Linked DNA regions of Homo sapiens: regions 1, 2 and 4 are each linked to region 3. The links are contacts of gene promoters, found by promoter capture Hi-C in blood cells and fetal thymus (Javierre and others, 2016). All regions are on one chromosome and are shown on one strand. Each heading gives the region's core, a stretch centred on a gene start or on the middle of the fragment in contact. The rest is flanking DNA. Distances are from core to core; before and after follow the strand shown. Region 1 overlaps INTS10 (integrator complex subunit 10). Region 2 overlaps LOC107986920 (a long non-coding RNA gene). Region 3 holds the start of SLC18A1 (solute carrier family 18 member A1). Region 4 has its middle 16 kb from the start of INTS10.

The links. Contacts are between HindIII fragments. The CHiCAGO score rates a contact against its expected background, and 5 or more counts as called.
Region 1: a fragment that was not itself captured here is called in contact with the fragment with the promoter of SLC18A1 in region 3 in 2 of 17 cell types (monocytes and neutrophils); the score reaches 6.7 in monocytes.
Region 2: a contact is called between a fragment that was not itself captured here and the fragment with the promoter of SLC18A1 in region 3, in 1 of 17 cell types (neutrophils). The highest score is 5.2, in neutrophils.
Region 4: a contact is called between a fragment that was not itself captured here and the fragment with the promoter of SLC18A1 in region 3, in 1 of 17 cell types (neutrophils). The highest score is 6.2, in neutrophils.

Annotation. Positions count from the first base shown.
Region 1 is chr8:19,820,314-19,823,682 of GRCh38, reverse strand. INTS10 (integrator complex subunit 10) reads right to left here. Exons shown (of 17, transcript NM_018142.4): 4 at 3,165-3,304; 5 at 1,163-1,244; 6 at 242-382. Among named protein-coding and RNA genes, the nearest start is that of INTS10, 4.6 kb to the right of the region's middle. The HindIII fragment of the contact is 3,239 bases long and covers 455-3,369 here.
Region 2 is chr8:19,772,149-19,775,179 of GRCh38, reverse strand. All of the region lies in intron 2 of LOC107986920 (a long non-coding RNA gene), which reads left to right. Among named protein-coding and RNA genes, the nearest start is that of CSGALNACT1, 16 kb to the right of the region's middle. The HindIII fragment of the contact is 1,142 bases long and covers 994-2,135 here.
Region 3 is chr8:20,181,100-20,184,613 of GRCh38, reverse strand. It overlaps SLC18A1 (solute carrier family 18 member A1), which reads left to right and starts at 1,478. Exons shown (of 16, transcript NM_003053.4): 1 at 1,478-1,551. The HindIII fragment of the contact is 10,670 bases long and covers 1-3,514 here.
Region 4 is chr8:19,799,417-19,802,626 of GRCh38, reverse strand. No RefSeq gene overlaps it. Among named protein-coding and RNA genes, the nearest start is that of INTS10, 16 kb to the left of the region's middle. The HindIII fragment of the contact is 275 bases long and covers 1,671-1,945 here.

The DNA.
Region 1 (3,369 bases), core at 825-3,324, 360 kb after region 3:
TACATTTGTAATGTTCCATGCAATAACATTACAGCTCAGCCAGAAGACTGTTTTGATCAAGGGGTGGCATTGCTTCCAGAAAAGCCTCATCTTTTAGTATTTTTTTTCTAGATACCATCTTTTGAAACACTCCCAAACTGGTAAGTATCCAGAGGAGAATAATCAGAACATTGAGGGGTTTCTGAATTTTGCAATATTACTAAAGCCTATTTAAGTAAAAGTACAGGGTATTCCTACTTACCTTGATGCTGATTTTCTATTTGAGTAGACCTAGTGACATAATTGATATAAAATTCAGCTGCTTTGTTCAAGTACTTATACAATAAATTGGCAGGTAATCGAACATCATGGTTGTTAATTATTAGAGGAAGGACATCACAAACTGTTGGAGGAGAAAAAGAAGAAATAAATTAATTAGGTTGTCTACCCTAGAGTTCCGATAAATACAAAAGCTTTCAGAGTTCATTTGATGTAGTATCTAAAATATATAGGGGGAAAAATCCCTTATGACTCATGTATTCAAAATGTGCTGTGCAGAGAGACACCAGTGGCTGGAGTCAGGGAGGAAACACAGACACTTTTATGCTGTGGGTGAGGGTCCAGTTCTTCCATTGAATTCAGATGTTTATTACTATGCTTCATACTTACATATACAGCTATGCATATTCTTTCAGAGGTATCAAATCTTACATAACAAAAGTTTAGAAGTTGTTTAAAATGCTTTTTTTTTTTTTGAGACAGAGTCTCACTCAGTCACCAGGTTGGAGTACAGTGGCGCGATCTCGGCTTACTGCAACCTCCGCCTCCCAGTTTCAAGCGACTCTCCTGCCTCAACCTCCGTAGTAGCTGGGACTACAGGCGTGCGCCACCATGCCCAGCTAATTTTTGTATTTTTAGTAGAGACAGGTTTTCACCATGTTGGCCAGGATGGTCTCGATCTCTTGACCTCGTGATCCACCCACCTTGGCCTCCTTAAGTGCTAGGATTACAGGCGTGAGCCACCGCACCCAGCTAAAATGCTTCTAAATTAAAAAAAAAAGAACTTAAATGCCATAACACATAAAGCTCCTTTGCCTTTCATATATGAGCTTATCCCTGAACCAACACTTACCCCAGCATATTAATTTACCATAGAAGTAATAGAGAATACAATTTTCCTTACCAAATAATTTTCTAAAGCAGTTCACTGGAGATTCTTGTTCTTCAATAGTTTCAGCCTCTAATAGTGCCTCCCCAAGGCCAACCTATTTCAAAACAAAATTACTCATTTAAATGTGTTACAGCATAAGTTGTCAGAACTATATGAAGTAATGGGGTATTTTTTTTACTTATCACAGTTTGCATAATCAAACTTATCTGAGAAACAAATAATCACATTTTAAAGACTGGAAAATAAAAGAATGCACCAGCCACACACCCTAGAAGGCCAAATTCACCTGAACATCTGACCACTCTGTCTTGGTTATTCTCTTCATAATTAGCAAATTCTAATTAACGATGAACAAGAATTAACAAAATGTCTATAGAAATGTAAAGGAAGCAATGGAACTGGAGTTCAAATGATAATACAGAGGTAGAGAGATTTTCTAAGAAATAAAGAAACTAAGGTTATTCTCTACATGAAGATGTATCAATATAGACAAAACGTATCACGTTCAAGATAAGTTCTGAGGTGTAGCCAGTCATACAGTCTGGTGTAGAATGGACAGAAAAGTCAGAGTTTTAAGGCTACCTTTCCATTACCAATGCCTTAGCATAGTAGACGGTCCCTTACTCAAATCCACCAAGACACTGGTATCAACTTCCTTGTGACCACACAGGGATGCACCACAGGAGTGGAAAAGTGCGAAAGATTACATCACACAGAAGGTGAAAGGTCAGAGTTATGACCAGAAAGTGTGCTGGGCTGAACAGTGCCCCCCCAAATTCATATCCCCGCAGAACCTCAGAATGTGACCTCATAGACATCTTACCTTTTTTTTTAAAAAAAGTATCTTTGTAGATATAATTAATTAAGATGAGGTCATGGTGGATTAGAAAGGCCCTCAATCCAATGACTAGTGTCCTTATAACATGGCCATGTACACACACCTGTAATCCCAGCTACTCAGGAGGCTGTGGCATGAGAATTGGTAGAACCCAGGAGGCAGAGGATGCAGTGAGCCAAGATCATGCCACTGCACTGCTGCCTGGGCAACGGAGCAAGACTCTGCCTCAAAAAACAACGACAAAAAAGGCCATGTAAAGACAAAGGCACAAAAGAAAGAAGATCATGTGGTGATGGAGCAGAAATTGGAGGAGTGATGAAGCTGCCTGCCAGGGAATGCCAAAGATTGCTGACAACCATCAGAAGCCAGGGAGAGGTAAAGAAAGATTCTTCCCCAGAACCTTCAGAGGGAAAGTGCCTCTGCCAACACCTGACTTTTAGACTTCTAGCTTCCAGAATTGTGGGAGTCCTTCTGTTGTTTTAAGCTACCCAGTTTGTAGTACTTTGTTATGGCAACCCTAGGAGACTAACACAAGCAGGTATGGAAATGATTAACCCGGGCCAGACGCCAGAAAATGGCATGGGAAATAAGCCGCAGAGTATGAACGAATGGAGTGAATGGTTTGAAACCTGACACCTCACTGGCTATGGGAAGTTACTAAAACACAAAATGCTCAGTTTCGTCATCTGTAAAGTGGGATACTATTTACTTCAGGGGATTTAGGAAGATAGGAGATACCTAGCACTTTCCCATGCCTGCCAATAGCACTCGATAATTATTACAGATGAAGGAAAGGGGCAGGAATAGAATGAAAATAGTCTCCATAGGGCAGAAGCACAGGAAAAACGCATCTGTTAAGACTATAAACTCTACGCTAAATTCAAAAGCACATTGTAGAATACAACGGAAAAAGATTACTTTTTACCATATGGATTGCAATAAACAGTACTGTCAGAGCTTGGTGATTTTCCTGATAAAACAGCTTCTCCTGGAAACTTACAAAATATGGTGAAAAGAATGTCCTTTTAGCTTTACTAACAAAGAACCTTCTATTTCAGTTCAATCTTAACCAGTACTCTTCAGAAACTTCTGCTTTGTAGCTCCTCACCATACCGATGAATCTGTTGATGACCCATTGTATTTTATATTAAAAGAAGGGGAAGAATCAAATCTCACCCCATGCTGCACCACCGTTTCAGGGAAGCGCCTCAAAAGTAGAAGCAACATTTCTGATCGTTCTAACGTGTTGAAGCATTGTTCCGTGACCTTTAGTAACATTTCACACTGGACCCGACCAGGAAGAGTTTCAAATAAACCTGTACGAAACATATTTCACTTTTAAAAGTTTCTTGCGGACAGAAAAGACTGCAGCAACAGTGCT
Region 2 (3,031 bases), core at 315-2,814, 410 kb after region 3:
TGACATTTTTTCTCACTGGGTGCTTTTTTTGAGATGGATCTTGCTCTGTCACCCAGGCTGGAGTGCAGTGGCATGATCTTGGCTCACTGCAACCTCCACCCTCCCTAGGTTCAAGCAATTGTCCTGTCTTAGCCTCTCAAGTAGCTGGGATTACAGGCACATATCACCACATCTGGCTAATTTTTTATATTTTTTGTAGAGACGGACGGGGTTTCACCATGTTGGCCAGGCTGATCTCAAACTCCTGACCTCAAGTGATCCACCAGCTCAGCCCCCAAAGTGCTGGAATTACAGGCATGAGCCACTCTGCCCGGCTTTACTGGGTGCTTTAATAGGATGACCTGGTATGTGAGTTTGCCTACGACAGCTGTTTTAAGTCTGTTTTCTTAGAACATCTATTAAGAATGCCCTCATTGACTCCAAAAAAAGTTCTAGTTTGGAGAATAAATAATATGGTTACCTCAGCATTTAAGATCTTTTTTTATCTTTCCTGTTCAGTTTCACTGAACTGTATCTGGAGTTAGGTTTATTTTAATTCATGACCCTTGATACATGGCATATTCTTTATTTCCCTTTTTTTCCTTGCAGCAACAACTTCTACTCTATCCTCATATGTGCTAATTCTCTCTTTAGCTATATCTAAATTGGCATTTTGCCCATCCATTGAGCCTTTAAAGCCAATTGATTATATTTTCAAAATCAATTCATTTAAAATAAATTATTGGCTCATTTATGATATGTTTTATTGCTTGTGCAATGCTCAGTTTTGTCTGTCTTTTATACAATCTTTTTTCTTCTTCATACAGATTTATTTTGTATTCTATATCTGATAATTCCAATATTAAATTCAGTTCTTTGGGTTATAAGTTATTTTTTCCTGGACTTTTTTTCATGCTGGCCTATTTCCTCATATGTTTGATGACTTTGCACCATGAACTTATATTTGATTGACTTTAATCAGTTGGAATCCTGAGGTCCTAAATCATGGAAGCTTTCCTCAGAAAGAATTTGTTTTACTTTCTGATGTGTGCCAGTGGGAGCTGCTAGTCTGGAACCACTTTAGACTGCTTCAAAAGACCCAGCTTAATGTGAGAGTCTCGGGTTTAGCTCCCAGACTTTGTGTTGAGCTCTAGGAATGTGGATTTTTCTGTTTTACCTTTCAGTTGTATTAGTTTCTGCTTCATGTACTTTGAAGTTCTGTTGTTTGATGCATGCACGTTTAGGATTGTTACGTCTTCTTGGCAAATTGATCCTTTAGCATTACGTAATACCCCTCTGAATCCCTGGTAATATTCCTTGTTCTGAAGCCTACTTCGTCTGCTGTTAGTATGGCCACTCTCACTTTTTTTTAGTTTGAGTTTGCATCTTATATCTTTTTCTACCCTTGTATTTTTAACCAATGTCTTTAAAGTTAGTTTCCTGTAGACAGCATAAAATTGGTTCTTGCTTTTTAAAAATTGTTCTAACAATCTGTCATGTAATTGAAGCTGATAGAGTTAATTTTTTCTATGGAATTTATATAGGAGAGGACTAAAATTTTTTGGTAGTATTGAAATAGTCACTTATTAATAATGAGATACATAAAAATTACTAAATTAGTCCACAGTATCAAAGTTCTAAATGTTGTCTAGCACATGATAGGTACTCAAAAAGCATGTATCACATGAAATGCTGAAAATGTTTAGGGTTACCTAGATTCAGCCAAATACATTTATTGAGCGCTTACTGTTTCCTAAACTGTATCAGGCGCCAGCCTAGTTGAAATAAAGAAAATATAGTACTGTGTTGACTTGCATTATTTCACCTTTCTTCCCGTTTCATTCTGAAATGATAGGTAGAAATGGGAGTGATAGAAGCAGTTTCTCAACAGCCCAGAATCTTAGAGGATAATTTGTGGCTGGCTTTTTTTTTTTGAGATGGAGTCTTGCTCTGTCGCCCAGGCTGGAGTGCAGTGGCGTGATCTTGGCTCACTGCAAGCTCCGCCTCCCGGGTTCATGCCATTCTTCTGCCCCAGCCTCCCGAGTAGCTGCAGTGACTGGTGTTTTAATTGCCCACAGCAATGTTTGCCCCTGGTTTTGATTGTAATTAGAAGCAGAATGTACTTTAAATAAATATTGATGCTTGATACGGAAGCTTTGCCTCAAATTTCCCCATTTCCACCCTCTTTCTCATCTCCCTGCTCCCATTTGACACTGCACTGGGACAGCAGCACCCTCATGTTGCTTGGTGTAACCGAAATGGCGGTGGGATTTGGAACTCAGAAGGTAGTTGTTAGAATCCTGGCTCAGCCATTAATTTGTTCTGGGAATTTCAGAACAAGTAGATTCAGATTGCTCAGCAACAAACACATAGAAGGCGCTAAGTCCTGACCCCTGTCCGATTAAAAAAATTATAAATCCAAGGATGATGTGAAACATACTTTTAAAGATAAAAAGAATCTGGATTATTTATTAGTGACTTCTTAGGAAATTGTTATTATGGAGAAATTTTAAACATCAAAAGTAAAGGGAATGGTATAATAGAACCCATGTTCTCATTATCAAAACATTTCGCCAATCTTTTTGCTTATCTCTAGCCCACCTTTTTTTTCCTTTTGTTTCCCAAAGCATTCTAAGGAAATAGATACCAAATAACAGGTACCAGGTCATTACACCTATAAATACTTCAGTATATAAGTAAATCTTTTAAAATTACATCTACTAAACTTTTCTTGGGTCCTACTCCCTCCTTATTAGATTAGGAAACTAAGAAGTTAGTGACTTGCCCAAGGCCATATAATTAAGTGGAAGAACTGGAGCGAGAACGTTAGTGTTCCTAATGCTTAATCCTGTATTCTTTCCCCATAACATGTTGGCTCTGAAGAACACCTATGTACTAACTGTCTTAGACTGTTCAGGCTGCTATAAGAATGTGGCTTACAAATAACACAAACTTATTTCTCACAACTCTGGCCGCTGAGAACTACAAGACGCAAGTGTCAGCAGATTTGGTGTCTGGTGAGGGCCTGCTTTTTGGTTCATAGATGGTACCT
Region 3 (3,514 bases), core at 229-2,728:
CCCAGGGTCATCCCGTGAGTCCTTACAAGTGAAAGAGGGAGGCAGAAGGCTCAGAGTCAGAGGGAGAGTTGAATATGCATTGCTGCTAGCTTTGAGGGTAAAAGTGGCTAGGAGCCAAGAAATGCAGGAGATCTCTGGAAGCTGGAAAAGGCAAGGAAACAACCATCCCCCAGAATCTCCAGAAGGAATGCAGCCCTGCCGACACATTCATTTTAACCCGGTGTGATGTATTTTGGACTTCTGACCTCCAGAACTGCAAGATACTAAATACGTGTTGTTTTAAGCCACCAGATTGTAGTAATTTGTTACAGCAGCAAACTATAGCGATGAATACATTCTGCTGATGTCTTTGTTTCCTATCCCTATTTCTCGCTCTAGGTTTACATTTTAAAACTGTTTCCATCTAGGCCGCGCGCTGTGGCTCGCGTCTGTAATTCCAGCACTTTGAGAGGCCAAGGCAGGAGGATCACTTGAGGTCAGGACTTCGAGACCAGCCTGGCCAACATGGTGAAACCCTGTCTCTACTGAAAATACAAAAATTAGCTGAGCATGGTGGCATGCACCTGTAATCCCAGCTACTCAGGAGGTTGAGATTAGAGGATTGCTTGAACCCAGGTGGTGGAGGTTGCAGTGAGCCAAGATCATGCCACTGCACTCTAGCCTGGGTGACATAGCGAGACTCTGTCTCAAAAATAAAAAAAATAAAATTAAAAAACTATTTTCTTTTTTTTTAGCGTTAAATCGAAAGTTCCCTAGTTAATTCCCACAATTAGGAGGGGCCCACCAGTTCCACAAATAGGAAATCTCTGCACTGCTCTTGCTCGTAAAGTGTATTTGCTTTTTCATAAATTGCTTATGTTCTTTGAGCCACCAATGGTTTAATGTCAGAATAATATAGATCATTAGAGCCTCTCAAGATCCCACAAGGAACTGCACTTTCTCCTGTAGTTAACCATCCAGTCATCCATGCAAGAAATATTTATTGGATGCTACCATGTATCAGGCACTGAGCCAGTATTGAGATGTGAAGACACAGTGCATAATCTAAGCCTTTACAGAGGCCACAGATGTTGGGTTTTTATGGCTTGAGAACAACATACATTGTTTCTTTCCAGGAAGCTAATTGGGGTACATGGAGCCACTTTGACTAAGTAGCAAGGAACAGGAACTGCACACTGGTTCCATCTTGGCTTCCAATTTGTATTCAGACCCAGGCAAGAGTTAAAGAGTTCGATGATAGATAAGCACAGATGCAAAACAGTACAGTCCAGTGCCTCTTTGCTTAGGCTAATATCTGCCCTCTCTTTATCCTCTCCAGCCCTGCCTTCCTGCCTTTGACGCAGGGAGCTAAGGGTCTGAATGAACCCTGTTGGAGGTTGCAATTAAATCTTTGTGGACAAAGGCACACACACACACACATACACAGAATCCTCAGATAACAGGAGGCAATAAATCCAACAGCACATCCACGTTCAGAGAACAGTGTCCCTGCTGTCTTGCTAACAGCTGCCAATACCTCACTGAGTGCCTCACACCAACATGGGCTCCAAGGTAAGATTTTTCTCTCTCCGGACAAATTTAATCTTTCCTTGTGATTTGTGTCTCTGTCAGAGGATTTTGACTGTTAAGTAAAGTTTACTATTGATTTGTTGGCAAATTCCTGGTTTTGTTTGTTTTTGTTTTGGGATTTGGGTGTGTGTGTTTCTCTCTCTTTGTAGTACTTACTTCACTCACTATGTTTTTTAATTTTCCATGGCTTGTCTTTTATTCTTATCCATACATATCCTAAGTCAATTTGTATTCAGAAATACCTCCTTTATATAGAGAAATGAAGGATCTTAAGTAATTGCATGCATTTACTGGTTAAAACTTAACTGAGAATTTGGTTCACTTAGGACCTTGGTCACGTTAATATGTAGTAGTGAGAGGGTTCTTCCAGCCCTGGGCTTAGAACAGAGTACCTCAGTGTTTGGGGTACTCCCAACACCTGAGGCTGACTATTGAATTTCAGTGATAATCATTTAAAATTATTTACTTCTTTAATTACAAAAGTAGCTCATTATTGAATATTTAGAAATACACAGAAGATAACTGAAGTCATTGATTATAAATAACTGGCATTTGAGTATCTCTCTACTCTCTCAAAAATGTGCCCATATATTTATATTTAGACAATTGAGATAAAGTTGAAAACACAGTTTAATTTCCCTTTTTTACTTAACGTTATAGTAATAGTATTTTCTGTATCATTAAAATTATTTGAAAATATAATTTTTAAGAGCCGCTTAATAATCCACCATTAACATGTTTGACTTTTTTCACTAAGAAAAATAATTCTGCAATTGATCATTTTGAGTATAAGTCTTTGGCTGCATCTCTGACCTTTTTTCTTTTGTAGGATGGGTTCCTTGTAGTAGAGTTACTAAGTCAAAGAGTATACAATTTTTAGGGCCTGATAGATTTCATGATGGTAATCTATTTTAAAATTTAAATGAGTGATATTGTTGATACCACAACAGAAGCCACGTCAAAGAAAATGAAATTCTCCCCAGAAACTCTTATTACTTGAAGTTTGACAAGGTACTGTGACTTAATGCTGACTAATGATATGAAATCCTGAATAGAGAACTAATCATGAAAGTCAATATTTTATTTTCACAGATGAAGGCATCTTTCTGATCAGGGGTTTGTAGCTCAAACAAAAGAATGAGCGTGCTTCTAGAACCACAGAGCAAGGGAACATGGTAGAGGATAAGCTGGCAAGTTGAAAAGCGTGGGATTTCATCCCAGTTTGACACTAACTGTGCAACCCCAAACAAATCTCCTAACCTTCAGAGGCTCGGATTTCTTGTCTATGAGATGAAGGTTGGTCTACATCAGTGTTTCTCAGTGGGCAGCCCAAGTGACACTGTGCCACATGAAATATTTTGGGGTAGCACCTAGAACAAAGGTCATACTTTTTTTGCATGCCACATAAAATAACTTTTTGAAACATGATATCAATATCTATGTTGGTTTTAAAAATTTTTTGAGAGTTAGGGGTCTTGCTATGTAGTCCAGGCTGGACTCAAACTCCTGGGCTCAAGATATCCTCCCACCTCAGCCTCCCAAGTAACTGAGACTCCAGGCACATCCCACCATACCTGGCAGTATCTCAATATTTTAAAAGAGTGGATCTAGAGGAAAAAGATGAAGTAAATGATAGTACAGGTAGTCCTTAGATATGACATAAACCATCAAGGTGATAGGCAAATAAATGTCGGATGTTTGAAAAACACAGGGTTAAGTGATCTGTAGAGCATCTATTTTTATCTGGATTTATACCTAGCCATTAAATTCAAGGGAAATTAATGGCTAGATATAAATCCAGACATAAATAGCTAGTAAGCGATGCTTACCAGGAAGGCATTCTGGGAACCAGGTAGAGTTATTGAGATTTATAAGAAGTGAACAGTGATACAGACATGGAGATGTTTCCAAATATCATCCTACTACTTGCAACCCTTTGCACTTT
Region 4 (3,210 bases), core at 559-3,058, 380 kb after region 3:
GCAAACTCCAGGCAGGCCTGCAGCAGCATCCAGATGGGGGTGCCTGTGACCCCAAAACCCCAGAGGGTATGTTACAGTGCTCTCTTAGCTTCACCATCTGAGGACAGCAGAGTGCTATCAGCTCAGTGGTCCCTTTGCCTCATTGCATGGGGTGGCGGCCCTCCACCAGTGAGAGCAAAGGGCTAGTGTGAGCCTTTTTGGGTACTGCACTTGGTGGGTCCCGAACTCTTGTCCAGTACCCAAGAAAAGTGAGGTCACGTGGACAACTGAAGGCTGGTGAATGCGAAGATTTTTACTGAGCAATGAAAGTGGCTCTCAGTAGAGAAGGGAGCTGGAAAGCAGATGGGAAGGGCAGGTCACTCTCCCCTGAAGTCAAGTTGACTTTCTACTTCTCTCCTCAGAAGTCAAGTTGACTCTTCGATGTCCAGCTGCTTCTCTGAAGTCAAGTCACCTCTCCCTGACATCCAGCCATTTTTTCTCCTTACTGACTGAATCTGGGGTCTTTATAGCCACAGGATGGGGGGCAGGGTGGGCCATATGTAGTTCTGTAAAAGGCAACATTCAGTTGGTAAAAAGACACTATTTAGAAAGAACGAATCAGGAGAGAGCAGGCAAATGGGTACAGAAGTTCTCACTTTGCGCCACAGGTTTCAGGCTTTTCGTCTTGAAGGTGGAGTTTCACTGGGGACCTGCCCTTGTTTTCCTAGAGTTTCTCTGCTTTCTGCCTCTATCAAAGTAACCAGTATGCTTTTTTGTTCGTTTGTTTGTTTTTTGTTTTTGTTTTTGTTTGAGACAGAGTCTCACCCTGTCACCCAGGCTATAGTGCAGTGGTGTGGTTTTGGTTTACTGCAACCTCCACGTCCTGGGTTCAAGTGATTCTTGTGCCTTAGCCTCCCAAGTAACTAGGATGACAGGTGTGTGCATTTTTGTATTTTTAGTAGAGATGGGGTTACGCTACATTGGTCAGGCTGGTCTCAAACTCCTGGCCTCAAATGGTCCACCTGTGTCGGACTCCCAGAGTGCTGGGAGGACAGGCATGAGTCACCATGCCTGGCCCAGTCTGCTTGTTATTCCTTGTTTTTGCTTTCAGCCCTTTTCTCCTTATAAAGCCAAGTCTCTCTGCTCAGCTCACCAGAGCATTTATTCTATTTTGTAGAATGAAATGCTTCCTGATTCTAGAGTCACAAGTATAAGCCAATTGGATCTTTAACTCTGTAGTTTTTGTCTTTTAACATCTCTTTAAATCCGCTGGTAGCCACTTTGGCTGGAGTGGTATTAAACAATGGCAGTGGGAGTTGCAACAGTGGCTGCCTGCCTCTGTGTCTGCTTCTCTGTAACCAGAAGCACCAGTCATGATTACAACACAGATCCCCAACATTTGGAGAACAAAGTCCTTATTGCCCACTCCATATCCTAAAAGCCACTCTAGGTACCCTAACACAGCTGCCTGCCACAGAGCTGGGGGTGGGACGATGCATAGTTGCTGCTGCACTAGGCTGAAATTGATCAAAATTAACCACACCTTCCCCTGGAAACTGCAAGCCTTTGAGTGGAGTATAGAATTCCCAAATAGTTTTATCAGACAGATTCTGCCAGTACAATCACTGTCTCTCTCAAGAGACAGATCCCTGGTGCTTCCTGCTCTGCCACCTCCCCTGACATTCCAAGCTTATTTAAACTTACATTCTTGTACAGTTCCTTTTAAATTATGTGTTGAAATTCTAATTTAACATTTATGAAAACTGACTCTAAGTTGCTGTGTGGAATTTAGAAGTGTTGAAAGTCATAGTTGGAAATTAATTTTTAATAACATTTTAAGGCCTTCTTCAAGTGATATTCCAGGTTAGGCAAGGACAAAAGAAGGCATGTTTCTGTGTATAAATAAGACATACATATACCATAAAATCTAGTAGAGAAAGGATTGGGATCCTGGGGAACTAAAGCTTTTGAGACTATTGTAAAACCATCAACTTGCCATTATCTTAAAAATAAGAAGATAATTTAAAAATTTAAGTTTTAATTTAATTTAGATTAAATTTAAGTTTAAATTTAATTTAAATTTAATTTAGATTAAAAATCTTAATTGTTGTAGAGTAGCATCTCTTGTGACAGAGTGATCAAGCAGAGTCCCAATAATGAAGAAAAATTACTTTCTGAAAGTTTAATGTTCCTCTTGTATTAGGCCTTATTTTATGGCTTCATCTTACTTTTAAATATGTTTTCTTTGACTCCCTGCATTATTTATACACTATCATATTTTTGTTATTTCCATTAGCTTGATTTATTTCTCCTATTAGATGGCATTTCTTTGAGAGCAATCATTGTTTTAATTTTTTATGCTATACACTATTGGGTACAGCTATTTGATTAATGTTTGATAATTACTTATTTTGGATACAGGAAATCTAACACCTTGAAACTTGTGATTTATCAGAACAAATACTTTTATTTAAGAAGCTGCTACATTAGTATGAGTTCTGATGAGAGTGAAGGAAGACATTCTTGATATAGAGAATGAGTTCCTAATTATGGCTCAAAGTTCTCTCTTTTGTTTCTTCTTGATCCTATTGGACATGTAAATAATTCACTGACATGTATATAAGTCAATAATTTGGTATTTTAAGTTTGGTACTAAGGCATTAAACAAAATAAATTAAACCATTGAAAATTGGAAAAGGACACTATTATTAAATTTTAGCTGTGGAACACCTTGTAATAGTTTGAGAATCACCACCGTAAATCATCCAAATACAGATTGAGCATCCCTAATCAAAAAATCTGAAATCCAAAATGTTCCAAAATGCAAAACTTCTTTGAGCACCAACATGACACCAGAGTGGAAAATTCTACACCTGACCTCATGTGATGGGTCACAGGCAAAACCTTGTTTAATGCACAAAATTATTCAAAATAGTATGTAAGATTACCTTTAGGCTATGTGTATAAGGTGTATATGAAACATAAGTGAATTTTGTGTTTACACTTGGGTCCTATTCCTGAGATCTCTCAGTATGTATATGCAAATATCCCAAAATAAAAAAAATCTTAAATTTGAAACAATTCTGATCCCAAGCATTTCAGATAAATGATACTCTACCTATATACCATACATTTAACAAGTCAGTATTCAAACTTATTTCCTGGACAGTGTCTTTTGCTAAAACCAATTGTTTTTATTCATTATAATTGTGTAACACTTAAACTTTCTGA